Linked DNA regions of Homo sapiens: all the other regions are linked to region 2. The links are contacts of gene promoters, found by promoter capture Hi-C in blood cells and fetal thymus (Javierre and others, 2016). All regions are on one chromosome and are shown on one strand. Each heading gives the region's core, a stretch centred on a gene start or on the middle of the fragment in contact. The rest is flanking DNA. Distances are from core to core; before and after follow the strand shown. Region 1 has its middle 9.5 kb from the start of MIR5694. Region 2 holds the start of PLEKHH1 (pleckstrin homology, MyTH4 and FERM domain containing H1). Region 3 overlaps LOC105370542 (a long non-coding RNA gene). Region 4 has its middle 6.2 kb from the start of MIR5694.

The links. The method cuts DNA at HindIII sites, captures the fragments that hold promoters and counts their contacts. A CHiCAGO score of 5 or more calls a contact.
Region 1: a contact is called between a fragment that was not itself captured here and the fragment with the promoter of PLEKHH1 in region 2, in 16 of 17 cell types (naive B cells, total B cells, M2 macrophages and 13 more). The highest score is 14.3, in naive B cells.
Region 3: a fragment that was not itself captured here is called in contact with the fragment with the promoter of PLEKHH1 in region 2 in 7 of 17 cell types (M0 macrophages, naive CD4 T cells, M1 macrophages and 4 more); the score reaches 6.5 in M0 macrophages.
Region 4: a fragment that was not itself captured here is called in contact with the fragment with the promoter of PLEKHH1 in region 2 in 3 of 17 cell types (M1 macrophages, naive CD8 T cells and M0 macrophages); the score reaches 5.9 in M1 macrophages.

What each region holds. Positions count from the first base shown.
Region 1 is chr14:67,430,478-67,434,301 of GRCh38, reverse strand. It overlaps a transcript of GPHN not described here. Among named protein-coding and RNA genes, the nearest start is that of MIR5694, 9.5 kb to the left of the region's middle. The HindIII fragment of the contact is 3,254 bases long and covers 244-3,497 here.
Region 2 is chr14:67,531,744-67,535,457 of GRCh38, reverse strand. It overlaps PLEKHH1 (pleckstrin homology, MyTH4 and FERM domain containing H1), which reads right to left and starts at 2,168. Exons shown (of 29, transcript NM_020715.3): 1 at 2,060-2,168. It also overlaps a transcript of GPHN not described here and a transcript of TMEM229B not described here. RefSeq lists a silencer at 2,075-2,544. The HindIII fragment of the contact is 32,076 bases long and covers 1-3,714 here.
Region 3 is chr14:67,463,195-67,467,280 of GRCh38, reverse strand. LOC105370542 (a long non-coding RNA gene) reads left to right here. Exons shown (of 3, transcript XR_007064213.1): 2 at 1-4,086. It also overlaps a transcript of GPHN not described here. Among named protein-coding and RNA genes, the nearest start is that of MIR5694, 23 kb to the right of the region's middle. The HindIII fragment of the contact is 1,281 bases long and covers 1,141-2,421 here.
Region 4 is chr14:67,446,222-67,450,053 of GRCh38, reverse strand. It overlaps a transcript of GPHN not described here. Among named protein-coding and RNA genes, the nearest start is that of MIR5694, 6.2 kb to the right of the region's middle. The HindIII fragment of the contact is 1,408 bases long and covers 691-2,098 here.

The sequences.
Region 1 (3,824 bases), core at 621-3,120, 100 kb after region 2:
CCAAATTAGCATCCAGGGAATTTGAACAATCAAACATTGTTTTATCATTTATATTAATTTTTATAACATTATAAAATTCACTGAAATTGCAAATTCAAGATACATGGTGGGGCTGCCTATTTTTCTATGTGAAGTATTGTGTGTAAACTCTCTGCTCATTTCCTTTGAGTACTTATCAAAAAGGAGCAGGATACTGGCCTTTTATAGTTAGATCTGTTCTTTAGCTATTTTGGATAGAAAGCTTAATTTGCCACATATATTTCTCCCCCATCTGTGGCTTTCATTTTTGTGTTTGCTTTATTACATTCTGTGGCACAAAAGGCTTTTAAAAACACATTTAGATCCGTCCATCCTGTCTCTGATATCTAATTTCATCAATAGTCAAAATGTTTTCTTCTCATCACAGTGGAAACACATTTGCTTTCCCATTTTCTCTGGCTTTTTATGACCCACTTAGACGATATTTGTTAAACAGTGATTCTTTCTTGTAGCATTGTGTTGATGCTTATTCATCTTATATCAAGTCTTTAAATAGCTTGAATTTGTTTCTGTAGAGTATGTCTCTTCTATTACCCTGGCCAACTTTTCTTGTCTTTACCCCAGTGAAATATAGTGATGACTGCTTTTTTAAGTTTACCCTCCTCCTTCTTTTTCCCCCACAAAAATTTTTTTGATATTTTGTCCATTCATACTCCCGATGAGTTTTAATGGGTTTGTTGTTGTTGTTGTTGTTGAATTATAGGATGCGTCTCATTTGTCTTTATATTCCATTTTAGTTTTAACTATTTAGACTTCACAATTAGGATCAAAGTACATCTCTGTATTCTTTCACGTTTTCCTCTATACCTCCAACTTTAAAATTTTCTTTGAAAAAAAAATCATTTATTCCAAGTTAAATTAATTCTGAACCACTAAATTTTTGTGTGTGAATAAGCCATCTTTCTCCCTCCCTTTTCTCTTCTCTCTGTCCCACTCTTACTCTCATTCTCATGCTCACTAAAATACAAGTATTTTGACACCAAACCATGTAGCTACCATGGTATATACTTCCACCCTCCAGGCCCAGCACCTGTTTCTGGGCATCTGCCAGCAGCCATCCATCAGCTCTGAGGATACCTCTGTGTGCCTTGTTCCCTTTTTCTGGCCCTCCTTGTAAGATGGGCATCAACTTCCTGGGTTGGGACATGGCTGGTTAAGGAAGAGTCAGAATGTTCTAAAAGTGCCCTCCCTATTTATTGAACAAAACAGAAAAACAGAGAGGACTACGTTGAATGGTGTCTCCTTAACATTCAAGCTCAACAAGAAGCTCAGAATGTGACCTTATGTGGAAACAGGGTCTCTGCAGACATAATTACTTAAAATGAGGTCATACCTAGATGAGGGTGGGCCCTAAATCAAATGACTGGGAACTTTATAAAAGAGAAAACAAAGACACACAGACAGGGAAAACACCACATGCGACCACCAAAACAGAGATTGGAGTGATGCCCCTACAAACCCAGGACCACCCAGGTTGCCGGCAACCACCATAAGGCAGCAGAGAAGCCCGAGATTCTCCCTCAGAGCTTCCAGAAAGAACCAACTCTGCCAACACCTTGGTTTCGGACTTCTGTCCTCCTGAACATGAGAGAATACATTTCTGTTTATTTCAGCCCCACAGTTTGTGGCAATTTGTCATGGCAGCCCTAGAACACCAGGCTCTTCACATAGTCTGTCCTGAGAGCTTGCCCGCTGCTGACTTTTAAAGGTACGATGCTCTAAAACACAGAAGAGAGGTGTCCTTGTAAACGTGTCTCAGAGCAGAGAATGAACAGTCCATTCTGGAAGGTAAATACTCAAGACAGGAGATATTTTTCTGTTTCCTGACCAACTGCAAGTCTCTCTTTGCAGAAGGCGAACTATTTATGGCACATTCCAGGTTCTAAGAACCAGGGCTCGTTCGCCAAGGAAGGCAGTGTGGTGTAATTCAAAGGCTTCAGAAGTTGGGCTCTGACCACCAGGGTCTAAATCTTGGTCCTGCCATTCTTTAGATGCCTAACTCTGGGCAGATCATTTAACCTCTTGGAGCTGGATTTCCCATCTGTAAGTGGAGACAATAATGATTTAGGGCCAACATATCTTAGGGAGTTGTTGCTGGGATCCGACGAGATAATTTATGAGCACACATTCTTTAAGCTGGAAAGCACTGGGCAGATGTTACCAATTCATAGTGGCTGCCTGTGGGGCAGGAGAGACACACTTCTCACTATATTCCATTTTGTTCTATGTGACATTTTCATGTACATATTGAAAAGAATATGTTAAAAAATTTAAGGGTAATCACTGTGAGCGCAACATGAACACATTAAATAAAGATGTTTGCTTTTTATCCTATTAAAAGATTTTAATATGCAAAATGAAGAAGAAAAAGTAGATAAAATTGTGCTCCAGTTCCAAGCTCACCCAAAGATGACATCTAGAGTATGGGCACTGACTGCCCCCTGCGGAAACCTCTGTTCCCTTCCCCCACCCCAGTTTCCATGTGGGAGCTTCTGGGACACAACCCAGCTCACATTTCCCCAACCTTTTTTGCCGCTGTTTTGGTCTGCTGCTGCTGCTGCTGCTGTTGTTGAGTTGGGGTCTCACTCTGTCACCCCAGCTGGAGTGCAATGGTGGCATCTCAGCTCACTGCAGCCTGGACCTCCTGGGCTCAAGCGATCCTCCCACCTCAGCCTCCAGAGTAGCTGGGACCACAGATGTGTGCCACAACACTGGGCTAATTTTTAAAATGTTTTGGGTAGGGATGGGGTCTCATAATGTTGCCCAGGCTGGTCTCAAACTCCTGGGCTCAAGCGATTCTCCTACTTTGGCCTCCCAAAATGCTGGGATTACACTAAACCGTTTTTTTTTTTTTTTTTTTTTTTTTTTTTTGAGACAGAGTCTCACTCTGTCACCCAGGCTGGAGTGCAGTGGCGCGATCTCGGCTCACTGCAACCTCCGCCTCCCAGGTTCAAGCAATTCTCCTGCCTCAGCCTGCCGAGTAGCTGGGATACAGGCAAGCGCCACCATGCCCAGCTAATTTTTGTATTTTTAGTAGAGATGGGGTTTCACTATGTTGGTCAGGCTGGTCTCGAACTCCTGACCTCGTGATCCACCCGCCTCGGCCTCCCAAAGTGCTGGGATTACAGGCGTGAGCCACCACGCCCAGCCTATGCTGAACCCTTTTTATCTGCTCTTGTTAGCCCAGATTTGGTGAACTAGAATTAGCTGTTCATGCCTGCCATGGATTTCCCATGGTTTGATTTGTCTTTCTGAAATCTAGAGAGAATAGGGACTCTCCTGCCAGGTTGTTGGGGCACCTATAGGATTGTATGTAAACACAAAGGCGTATTTGGGAAGCTGGTGCCCCGATCCCCAGCCCTGCACACTTTGAGGCTTTATGCTCATACCAAAGTCACAGCAGGAAGGGACTGCTTTGATCACAGAATCCTCAGGGGATCAGAATGGGACGTTAAGCTTTGTGGTCCACTTAATGAGGAGCTCTCTGCCCCTTACTGATGAGCAGGCCCTCCAAAGTCCTGAGGTCTCTGGGCCTTTCATCAAGTCAATGTCCTGGGGCAGCGCCTGATATTGCACCGGTCACTCACTGCCCAGCCCCTCCACCAAGACTCCACTCCACAGGCCCCGTTGCCACCTGCCTCCTCCAGATCTTATCCCCGTGATGCCATTGACACCAGTTGATGTGACACTCCACTCGGTCACCACTCTGCCAGTTGAGAAAGCACTCCTGCTTCTTCTTTCCTTAGGATGGAGGGCTTATAGCAAAGTCACGTGAGCCCACGTGG
Region 2 (3,714 bases), core at 919-3,418:
AGTGAGCTGAGATTGCACCACTGCACTCCAGCCTGGGCAACAGAGCGAGACTCTGGCTCAAAAAAAAAAAAAAAAAAAAAAAAAAAAGATGTGCTCACTACCAGATCTAACTCTGGAGATCTGGAGAGGAGGTCATATGATTTTTAAAGTTATTTTAGAACATTGAACAAAAGGGTATATAGTGCAAAGTAAGGCTTCTTCCCATGCCTGTACTTCAGCCATAGTTCTCCCCAGCGGCAACCACTGTTACAGGTTTCTGTGTGTTCTCTCAGAGATATTCAGAGCATCTACAGGCATTCATATGTATGTGGCATTCACACACCCACCCAAAAATCGTGGCCCACCATACACACTGTACTCAACAATATAACTTAGAGATATTCCTACATCAAAGTATATATCTGCCACATTTTCTCTGCACGCTTTATAACAGCTTTAATGTATCCTATCGTGTGGCTTTTACATGATCTTATTGAAGGGTTCCTTATTGATGGACATCTAGATTGTTTCCAACCTTTTGCTAAACAATGCTGCAATGAATATTCAATGATGTACACCATTTCATATACATCAGAGTATATCTGAAGGATAAAGTCCCAGAAAATGGAATTTAGGGGTAAATGATGTACACTTTAAATTGCCAGACATTTCTTTGGATTTTTTTTTTTCTATCAGGAATGGGAGGAACATGCTCTCCCCTACAGCTGGTGACTTCTGAAGAGGGCAGAAGAGGCTCCACATTTTTTCAGCTTAGTTGTTAGTTTCAATGAGTTTGGGGCCACAGGCTGCACCCCACAATTGCCCAACTCTGAGCAGGCCCCCTCAGCAGTCTATGGGAAGGTGGTAGAAGTGGACTGAACCATACGTTAGGAATTTAGGAGGCTTGGGTTTCAGTTATGGCTCTTCCACTTTTTAGCTATGTGACCATGGGCATATCACAACAATTTTTTTTTTAACAGACAGGATCATCAGCCTCCCAAGTTAGCTGGGACTACAGGCCCACACCACCACACCCAGCTAATTTTTAAATTTTTATTTATTTGTAGACACAGGGTCTCCCTATGTTGCCCAGGCTGGTCTTGAACTCCTGGCATCAAGCTCTCCTCCTGCCTTGGCTTCCCAAAGTGCTGGGATTACAGGCATAAGCCACTGCAACTGGCCTAAATCACAACTTTTCAGAGTCCCAGCTTCCTCCTTTGGAAAAATGGGGCCAATAATATGCAGAAACACTAATACCGATGTTCTATAAAGCGTTCAGTGATGGTACTAGCCCTATACACAGTGTCTGTCACATAGAAGACAGTCCAAACAGTTTGATGAAGGAACTGATAATTCTCCCACTGAATTTTTTAAATGGTCTTTCAAGTGTTTTACCTGAACCAAGGCTCTGTCTTGGAAGAGTTTTATGAGGTGGATTCATAGTAAAAGCTATGGAGGAGATATCCTGGCAAGCAGAAATCCCACAAGGAGAGGAGTTTCCTTCCAGATGAGGCTCTTCACCGCCTCTGCCACCCCCACTAAGGCCCCTGGTTCCTGGTGACCGAGTCCTCGCTAAGACTCCTAGGACACAATGCTCTGTGTCATTCGGCGCCCAACCTGTTTTCTTTTCTGCTTGAATGACCTGCTCCTAGGAGTCGAGCCTGAGCCATAGGGTCCCAAAGACAACACTCAGAAATCACAGAAGAAATAACCTGAGGTGAGATGGGGAGGGGTGCGGGAAGGGGTGAAAGGGAGCGAGCACCGATAGCAAGGTGGCAGCCTGCACGTCCGCTCCGAGGGCCCTTCCCAGGAGCGGCTGGATCTGACCGATCCCCAAGTCCAGGTACTCCCGGGGGAGGCTCCTCCTGGCCTCGCGGCGCGAGTCCCCTGGGGCGCCCGGCTTCCCAAGCCAGACCCGCGCTCCAGCGCTCCCCGCCGCTGGGAGCTCGCTTCCAGGTAGGGAGGCACCTGCTCCGGATCGTCCTCTGGGCCCGAGGGGCCGTCCCCCGCGCGCAGCCTGACGCCCTCCGCCGCGGCGCAGCCCCAGCCCACCACAGCGGCGGGAGCGCGGGTCGCTCACCTCCAGCGAGCTCGCGGCCGTCCCCGCCGCGCACTGGGCACACGGGCGCCCTCGGGCCGCCGCCGCAGCCGACCTTGCGTCGCTCTCGCCGGAGTCCCGGGCTGCCGCCGGTTCTCCCCTCCCCGGCAGCAGGGGTCGTGGGCTGCGGGGCGGGGCGAGGCTGGAGCGGGAGGGGTGCCCGCGGGCTCGCTGCACAAAGCCCGGCCGAGCCTTGCTGCGCCCCATTCAACGCTCCGCCGGGCGCCCTCCTCCCCTCGGCTCCCCGCCCGCTCCTTAAAGGCAGAGCGCTGGGCTCAGCTCTCCAGGCAGCTCGCGGAGAGGCACAGGAAATGACCTCAGCAGGCTCCAGCCTCCCACTTCTCCGCACCGCTGGGCTCGTCCCTGGGGCGGCAGGGAGGGCGGCGGGGTGTCCCGGGCGCCGGCCCGGAGCTCTCCGAGGAGGCCGCACCAGCTGCCGCAAGGGGTGGCCAGAGCGCCCCGGGGATCTGCTTGACCCCAAATAGCGGGGGACCCTCGCGGGCTGCGGGACAAGACCAGACCGTCTCCGCCAAAGGTTCCAGCATTCTCCTGGCCACCTGTGGGAACTGTAACGTCTGGATATTTGGAACAGAAGTCCATATTTCAGTCTGGCAGACCAAATGTTCTGAGTTGCAATTTGCAGGAGAAAAAGAAAAAATAAGTTACGACAGCCCAGAGAGTAACTTACTTGCTTATTTTCTGGTCTCGCTATGTTGCCCAGGCTGGACTCGAACTCCGGAGCTCAAGTGATCTTCCCGCCTGGGCCTCCAGGCCGGCTTATGTATATGTTATTTTAAAGGAGGGCCCAGGAGGACCCTGGCTGCCAGGCAGTTTGCAGGGCAGTCATCAGCGTGCCCATGTGCTCCTCGTTCTCAGACATTTGCAGATCTCAGATCGCCCAAAGCAATCTCATACCCAGAGGGGTTGGAAAACTCAACATTTGGCTAGGTGAGCCTGGAGTAAAGAAGATGCAAATAGAGACCATTGCAGGGAGGGATCCACACTTCAAAACAGAGCCTTCTTCCTCAACCCTGCAGGCTCTCTGTCAGTGAAGGACTGAACAGAAGCAAAATACCATCAGCGCCTGTTTCTCCAAATGGTCCTTGGAAGACTCATCCCAGGCACCATGAAGAACACCCCCACCCTGGGTTTGAATCTGAATCTCTAACTAAAGTACCCCAGGCCATTCTCACGTAGAAGTTTTGAGAGCCCAGACACTAAGGAAAGCTGGTAGTGCAGGAGGCCAAACGTGAGAATTTAACTGGGCCAATGGGACTTCAATGGCTGAACTTGCAAACAGCTTTATAGCTCGTGGGGATTGGGATAGATTAGCCCCATTTTGTGGGACAATGCTCAGGCTATCCACTTCAACATTCCAGAAGTTGCATAAGGAAGCCCAAAAACACGTTCTCTGGATTTTGCTAAGAAGACATTAATTCATTCATTCACTTTTTTTTTTTTTTTTTTTTTGGACATAGGTTCTTCTTGTTCTGTTCTCCAGGCTGGATTGCAGTGGCACAATCATAGCTCACTGTAACTTGAACTCCTGGGCTCAAGCAATCCTCCCATCTCAGCCTCATGAACAGCTGGGACTATAGGCACATGCTACTATACCCAGCAAAAAAAAAAAAAAAAAT
Region 3 (4,086 bases), core at 532-3,031, 68 kb after region 2:
ACTGAGAACTGACCTGTTTAACTCATCAACTCCTTATTAGATACCTGCAGTGAGCCAAGGACCAGGCTAGTTCCTGTGATGCTGAAGATGTTGAAGGGAAGCCCATAACATTACAACGTTGACCAATCCTCCAGAAAAGAAGCTCTAACAGAGGACCCTGGCTGTCTACGGGGTTGGGTAAGGATTCTTCCAGGAAGAGACACTTTTCACACACTCAAAGGTTGATAGGTTGATTACTGATACTTTCAGAGATAGGCTGGAGTCTTTTTTTTTTTTTTTTTTTTTTGAGATTGGGTCCCCCTCTGTCGCCCAGGCTGGAGTGCAGTGGCGCGATCTCGGCTCACTGCAACCTCCACCTCCCGGGTTCAGGTGATTCTCCTGCCTCAGCCTCCTGAGTAGCTGGGATTACAGGCCCGTGCCACCATGCTCGGCTAATTATTTTGTATTTTTAATAGAGATGGGGTTTTGCCATGTTGGCCAGGCTAGTCTTGAGCTCCTGACCTCAGGTGATCCACCTGCCTTGGCCTCCCAACATGTTGAGATTACAGGGGTGAGCCACTGTGCCTGGCCCAGGCTGGAATCTTATTGTCCAGAAGTGCAGACATTTACTGTGCCCTGCAAGGTGCCTAGCTGGGTACAGTGCCGAACAAAGGAAGCACGTAGTGAGTGCTTTAAGAAACTCTTGACAAGTGGAGTCTTAGTGAACCCACCCTAAAGGCCAGGCTGAGTGTTCCAGAACACCAGTTCCCAGGCTCTTTTGGGAACTTGAAGCTAGGAATCTATTTAGACAACAACCATCCATGCCATTTCTGTGCCCACCACCATAGAGCAGCTCACTGTCCTCCTCCCTCTTTCCAAACCATTAATCCCTGCAGAGCCCTGCCAGCATTTCCCTCTTAGAGTCTTCCGGCCTTGGCCAAAGACCCAGCTCCACTGATCCACCCATTGTTTCATTCTGGTAATACACTTTCTTGGTTTGGGCAAAGGTAGCCTTTTAGTGCCAAACATTACAGAGAAGGAGATCCGCAGATGATATGGTCTGGCTCTTTGCCTCTGTCACAATTACAGCTTCCAAACAGAAAGGAAGTTTTCTGGTTTAGAAGGGTCCACCAGATGGCGAAGGGTCCTGGGGCTGAAGCTTCTTAGTTAAAGTATGGGGTTGTATCAGTGTCCTAGGACTGCTGTAACAAATTACCACAAAATGAGTAGCTCTAAACAATGGAACTGTGTTCTGTCACACTTCTGGAAGGCAGAAGTCAAATCAAGGCATCAGCAGGCTGCATCTCCTCTGAGGCTTTAGGGGAGGATCTGGCCTTGCCTCTTCCAGTCTCTGGTGGCTGCCGGCAATCCTTGGCTTCCTAGGCTTGTGGCAGCATCACTCCCATTTCTGCCACTGTGGTCACATGGCCTCCTCCTCTTCTGTCTCTTAAAAAGACACTTACCATTGCATGTAGGGCCCACCCGGGTAATCCAGGATGATCTCATCTTAAGATCCTTAATTACAACTGCAAAGACCCCTTTTCAAAATAAGGTAACATTCACAGCTTCAGGGGGCTTGGACGTGGCTACATCTTTTTGGTGGGCCACCATTCAACCCAGTATAGGGGTCGAGAAGCAGATTTCTGCTGAAGCCCTTGCATTTTGTACCCACTTAGGAATTCCATGAGGAGTGAAAGCTGGAAGCACAGTGTGTGGTCATCTGGGAGGGAACGCAAGGATTTAGGCATCCCAAGATATACCTGTACCTGTTGTGAAGTTTCTGTTTAGATGCAGATCTGACCATTTCACTCCCTACTTCAGACTCTTTAATGATTTCCCATTACCCTAAGGATCAAGCTCGACACCTTAGCGAGGCTTACAAACCTTTTGTGGTTTGGCCTCATTTCTCGCCTCTGCCCCAGCCCTGTGCCATCCAGGGAGACTGACTTGTAGTTCTCCCTGCAGCTCCCGTTCACTGCCTCTGGGCCTTCGGCCCCTATGTTACCTCTCCCTGGAACACTCTTTCTCCTCTTAGCCCAACTGGAGACTGATGAGCTCACTTAAAGCTGGCAACATTGGTTTCTATCTCCGTGGAGCTTCCCCTCGCTCTGCCTTCAGTTTACAAACCCAGTCCTGGCGCCTGGAAGCCCTCTGTGTGCCGGTCACCAGCAGAGTGGCTACATTCTTCCAGTGTTGTCAACGCAGCTGACTTTGGTCATCCATTCACCTGCTGTGCACCAGGACCTCCCTGCGCTAGGCCTGTGGCACAGCAGGGAGCAAGACAGATTCCTGTGTCCTTGCTGTAGGATGACTTCAGTGGAATTACAGGGTGCCGACAACTCCGATGGCTCACTGTTAGGGAAAGAGGGATTAACCCAGATCTAGAAGGGGAGATCAGGAAATATTTCTGTGTCTGATTTAGCCAGGACAGGGGGTGAAGCTTGAGGTGAGGTGAAGAGCAGGCACTCCAGGTTGAAAGCACAGCATGTGTGAAGGCTGAGAACACACAGAGAACAGAACTTGCGAAAATAACAGATCGTGATACAATTAAAACAGGGTGGTGTGCAAATGAATAGGGAGCTTCTCTAGACTGGGTAGCCCCAAAAGGTCTGCCAGAAGAGATGCTATTTAGTCTGAAGCCTGGATCGTGATGACAGTCCCCCTGTGAAGGTGCAGGGAGAGTGTTTTGTGCAGAGGAAACAGCTGGTACAAGAGGCAAAGATGCGAATGAGCTCGAAGAGTTTGAGGTACAGATAAAAGGCTGGTGTGGCTGCTGCGTGGTGGGGGCGAGGGTGAGGAGGAGTACAGGATGCAGGTGAGAGAAGCAGGCAGGGGTCAGAGCCTGTAGGGCTCTGGAGGGTGGGGGCAGGGGGACAGAGGGTGATGGATGTGATGGACAGAGGGTGATGGAGTGCTTTTAAGGAAGACCTGTGGGGCCTCACCCAGCCCCTTCCAGGAAACCCCATTCTGAGGATGGGGGCACAGGCCAGGGGAGGCTGCAGGGAGAGCCTGGGGTCCCAGGTACCCTTAGCCTCCATCCTGTTCTCTCAGAGGTCATGGATTGCGGTCAGCGGGACTGGAAATATGGATCTGTTTTGTTTTGGCAAAACTTTCTCTGTACCTACTACATAAGCACTCCTACCCTGGGGTAGATTGCACCAGGCCAGGTGGTGCAGGTGCAGGGCTGCTCTCTTTCTCTCTGTCTCACATACACACACACACACACTCTCACACATACACACACCCTGCGCCACCTCATGCACACTAACCTCTGTGAGCTGGGCCTGTTGAGGCCCTCCTGAAGCTACCTGGGAGCTCAAGTCCCACAGATCCTTGGAGTCTCAAGGTTGTTGGCAGTATTGGACCTTCCCAGAGTAGGGCAAAGGTAGGGAAGATGTAGCAGAGGTATTGACTCAGACAGACTTTTGTTCTAACCCTGTCTCTACCGCTTACTGTCTATATGACTTTGGACAAGAGACTGAGCCTCTCTGAGACTTAGTTTGGTGTATTTAGCTCAGATGTAGTTAGTTGAGTTCACTGGGAGCACATTCTAGCCTCCCCCTAGGCTGAGTGCAAAAGTTAACTCTGCTGATGGTCTAGAGCAGCCAGCATTAGATGCTAGCTCGGCACAGCAATCTTTTTTTTTTTTTTTTTTTTTTTTTTGAGACGGAGTCTCACTCTGTCTCCCAGGCTAGAGTGCAGTGGCGCAATCTTGGCTCACTGCAACCTCCGCCTCCCAGGTTCAAGCGATTCTCCTGCCTCAGCCTCCCTAGTAGCTGGGACTACAGGCGCGTGCCGCCACGCCCAGTTAATTTTTTGTATTTTTAGTAGAGACAAGGTTTCATCGTGTTAGTCAGGATGGTCTCGATCTCCTGACCTTGTGATCCACCCGCCTCAGCCTCCCAAAGTGCTGGGATTACAGGCGTGAGCCACCGCGCCCAGCTCCAGCAAACATCTTAAAATGGAATATTAGACATCCACATTATTAAGTCTTGTGGGCATTGCCTTTGGTTTTTAATATATTTGAAAAAAATTTTTAATTAAAAATAGAGATGAGGTCTCACTATATTGCCCAGGCTGGTCTTGAACTCCTGAGCTCAAGTGATC
Region 4 (3,832 bases), core at 145-2,644, 85 kb after region 2:
TTTTGCTCTTGTTGCCCAGGCTGGAGTGCAATGGCACGATCTCAGCTCACTGCAACCTCTGCCTCCCGGGTTCAAGCAATTCTCCTGCCTCAGCCTCCCAAGTAGCTGAGATTACAGGTATGTGCCTCCACAAGGGGTTTCTCCATATTGGTCAGGCTGGTCTCAAACCCCTGAAATCAGGTGATCTGCCTGCCTCCCAAAGTGCTGGGATTACAGGCATGAGCCACCGCACTGGGCCAAAACTCCTATTTTTTAAAACCATCAGATCTCGTGAGACCCATTCACTATCACAAGAACAGCACGAGAAATACCCACCCCCATGATTCAGTCATCTCCCACTGGGTTCCTCCCACAATACATGGGAATTATGGGAGCTACAAGATGAGATTTGGGTGGGAACACAGAGCCAAACCATATTAGGCCTCAACTGGCAAATGATGGGAGAAGGCCTTGATGCTATACCACATAGCACTATCTGAGCCTCTGCATTGTTTCTGAGTGTGTGTTGTCCCTGCCTGTCAGCCTACAAGATACAGGGGACCATTGTCAGGAGACTCCCTCCTCCTTGCCACCCCACTTCCCCACACCCTGCCTTCTAGCCTTGGGTTCAAGGATCAGTGACAAGAGTGCCATGAAAGAGCATCTTTCCCAGGCCCTCCCGAGTGCCTACCACAACCCTCTTCTAAAGCTTCTGGGCTCTGAGAGGGCAGAGGCTGGCTTCTGGACAAGTGGATCATATCCAATGCAGCCTCTATCCTCCTTCACAGTAGAGCTCATTTGGCCTCGGCTGCAGTTAGCACCTCCTGGATCCTCTTGGCCAGACTGAATGACCAATTTAAGTTAATTTTCAGACTCTTAGTATTGGAGAGGAATGTGCAGATAGAACAAGCAGTCCAAAAATGCAGGAATCCCATCTTCAGCAGTCTGAGCAGAATTGGCTGGTGTGTCCTCATGATGCCAGCTTCTCCCTTCCTAAAAGGGTCTGGGCCCTTCCTGGTTGGCTATCATGGACAGAAGCTCCTCCTGAAGTTGGGCTACAATCTGACTTTTCTGTCGTGACACCTTCCACGCCTAGTTTGGCCCTTTGGAGTGTCACAGTATTCCCCTCATGGGATGGTCTTTCACAGCCATGAAGAGAATCACTGTGTTCCTGCCAAGTCTTCTATTTTCAAGATTAAATAGCCCCACTTCCTCCAATTCTACCTCTTAGGTCAAGGTTCTTTAAGGCTTCTTAAGGCCTTTTCCTCATTGCCCTACTCCCTCTGTTTCCAGTCTGTTCTAATGGATTTGTCAGGAATCCTGACTCAGGATTCCATTTAAAATACTATGCTGAGAGCGTGACACTGAAGTGTTTGTGATCAGTAGGGCAGCATTATTGTCTGTAGTCTCCCTTTGCTCTCTCTCCCCTCCACAGCCCCCCACCATCCCTCCAGGCTTCCTTCTGGAAACTGCAAACCATCCCCCTTCCCCAAACTTCACCCATGCAGTCCTTGTAGGGGCTGCCACACTCACCTATGATTCTGTTCCCAAGGCCAGCTGGTTGGCTAAGAGGTTGGCACCAAATTTAAGCTGCTCCAATCAATTCATTTATAGGGATGTTTGTTTTTGAATACCTCTCTGGTGACTGAAATGGTAAAATATACAATTCAACAGCAATTGGTAGCTACATTGATCAATATAGAATGGGCTATGATATCCATCCTGATTAACATGGTGAAACCCTGTCTCTACTAAAAATACAAAAAAAATTAGCCAGGCATGGTGGCACACACCTGTAATCCCAGCTACTCAGGAGGCTGAGGCAGGAGAATCGCTTGAACCTGGGAGGTGGAGGTTGCAGTGAGCCGAGATTGCAGTATTGCACTCCAGCCTGGGTGACAGAGCAAGACTCCGTCTCAAAAAAAAAAAAAAAAAAAAAAAAAAAAAAAAAAAAGAATGGGCTATGGTAAGAAATGAATCAAACCTGAAATGTTAGTGGCTTAATCCAATAAAAACGTATTTCTTTCTCATGCAAAATTTGATGGGGTTCGGCAGGTTTCCTGGGAAGCTCTCCCCCAAGTGGTGATTCAGGGATCTAAGATCCTGCTATTCTGAAGCTTTGTCATCTTACTCTTTCACTTCCAGATGCAAGGTAGAGAGTGGAAGGAATGAAGGGGTGGGCGAGGGCATGAAGAAGCCTCCCCAGCTCTAATGGCCACTGTCTGAAAGTGATGCAGCTCACTTCCACCCACATTCGCCAGATTTCAATCCATAGCCTCACTTAACTGTAGGGCAGGCTAGGACATATCATCTTTCCATGTGCTGAGAAAAAATAGAAAAGACCAAGATTGGTGAAAAGGAGCAAACTAGTGACGAGAACCTTGCCATAGCCATTTTTTTGCCACTCACAGAAGCCGGTCTGTACCAAGCGAGAAGTGGCTATAGGAGAAGTGGTCCTGAGGCTCATCTGCCTTCTCCTGGTCACCCTCCCAATATATCCCTCCTGTGCTGAGCTAGTTTTCTATTACTTTTCATCACCTACATCTAAAAGAGACCTACCTATCTAACACAGTCTTTGTCTTACTATCATAATGCTATTAATGCAAGCTAAATAATAATCTTTCATCTTCTTTTTTTCTTTATCTTTTTCACTTGAATTGCTTTAAATTCAAATCTTCCTGCTATAGTGTGAATGTTTGTGTTCCCCCCAAATTTATGTTTAAACTTTAACCTCCAAGCTGATGGTATTAGGAAGTGGGGCTTGGGGAGGTGATTAGGTCATGAGGGTGGAATATTTGAGAATGAGATTAGTGCCCTTGTGAATTAGGCCTGAGAGAGATCCCCTCATCTCACCATGTAAGGACACAGCAGAAGGTGCTATCTTTGAACCAGGAAGTGAGCCCTTGCCAGACACTGAACCTGCCGATACCTCAATCTTGTCCTTCTCAGTCTCCAGAACTGTGAGAAATAAATTTCTGTTGTTTATAAACCACCTAGTTTGTGGTATTTCATTAAAGCAGTGTAAACAGACTAAGACACTCCCCATATGGACTTCCTTATCTAATTTAGGGGCCAGCCAGGCAGTAAATATTTTAGGCTCTGTAGTCCCTGTGTGACTACCCAACCCTGCCACTGCAGCGTAAAAGCAGCCATAGAGAGCCTACAAACAAATGGACGTGGCTGTGATCCAAAAAAAAAAACTTTCTTTTACAAAGACAGGCAGCAGGCTGCAGCTGGTAGTTCGCCAACCCCTGGTCTAGTTGATCTTTTTGGATCTGAGCTTAGGATCCTCATTTCTCCCTATTAAATATAACCCTGTTAGCTTCAGCCCACCTTTCAAGTCAGCGGCATATTTTTGAATCCTGATTCTGTCACCCAGCATAGTGGCTCTCCCTCCCTGCTCTGCGCCATGTCACGTTGAATGGGCTTCAGTGTCCTAATGGCTCATCAGAAGGGTAGGTGGTGACTGTGCTGCCCCTCCTGGGAAAGGACATTCTGGGGAGAAGCCAGGACTGCAGTGGCTGGCGTGCTTGGCAGGACACCCTTCTAACTACCAGGAGCACAGCCTCTGCTGACCCGGAGGTCAGCACCTCATCACTCTGTTTCTCTGATTTTGGTTTCATGGAATGCATCTGGCTCAGGGGCAGGGCAGGAGTAATTTGGAGGCTGTTGGCTTCCCTGAAATATTCCTTTATTCAACACTCATAGTTATTCAATGAGATGAACTTTGTGTCCAGCTATTTACTGATCTCCTAACAATCTCTGGGGGCACTCTTCTTGAGTTTAGAGCCATGGAATTCTGCTCTTGGGGCAGGTGGACCTAAGCAATCATCAAGTCTGGTACTGTTTATTT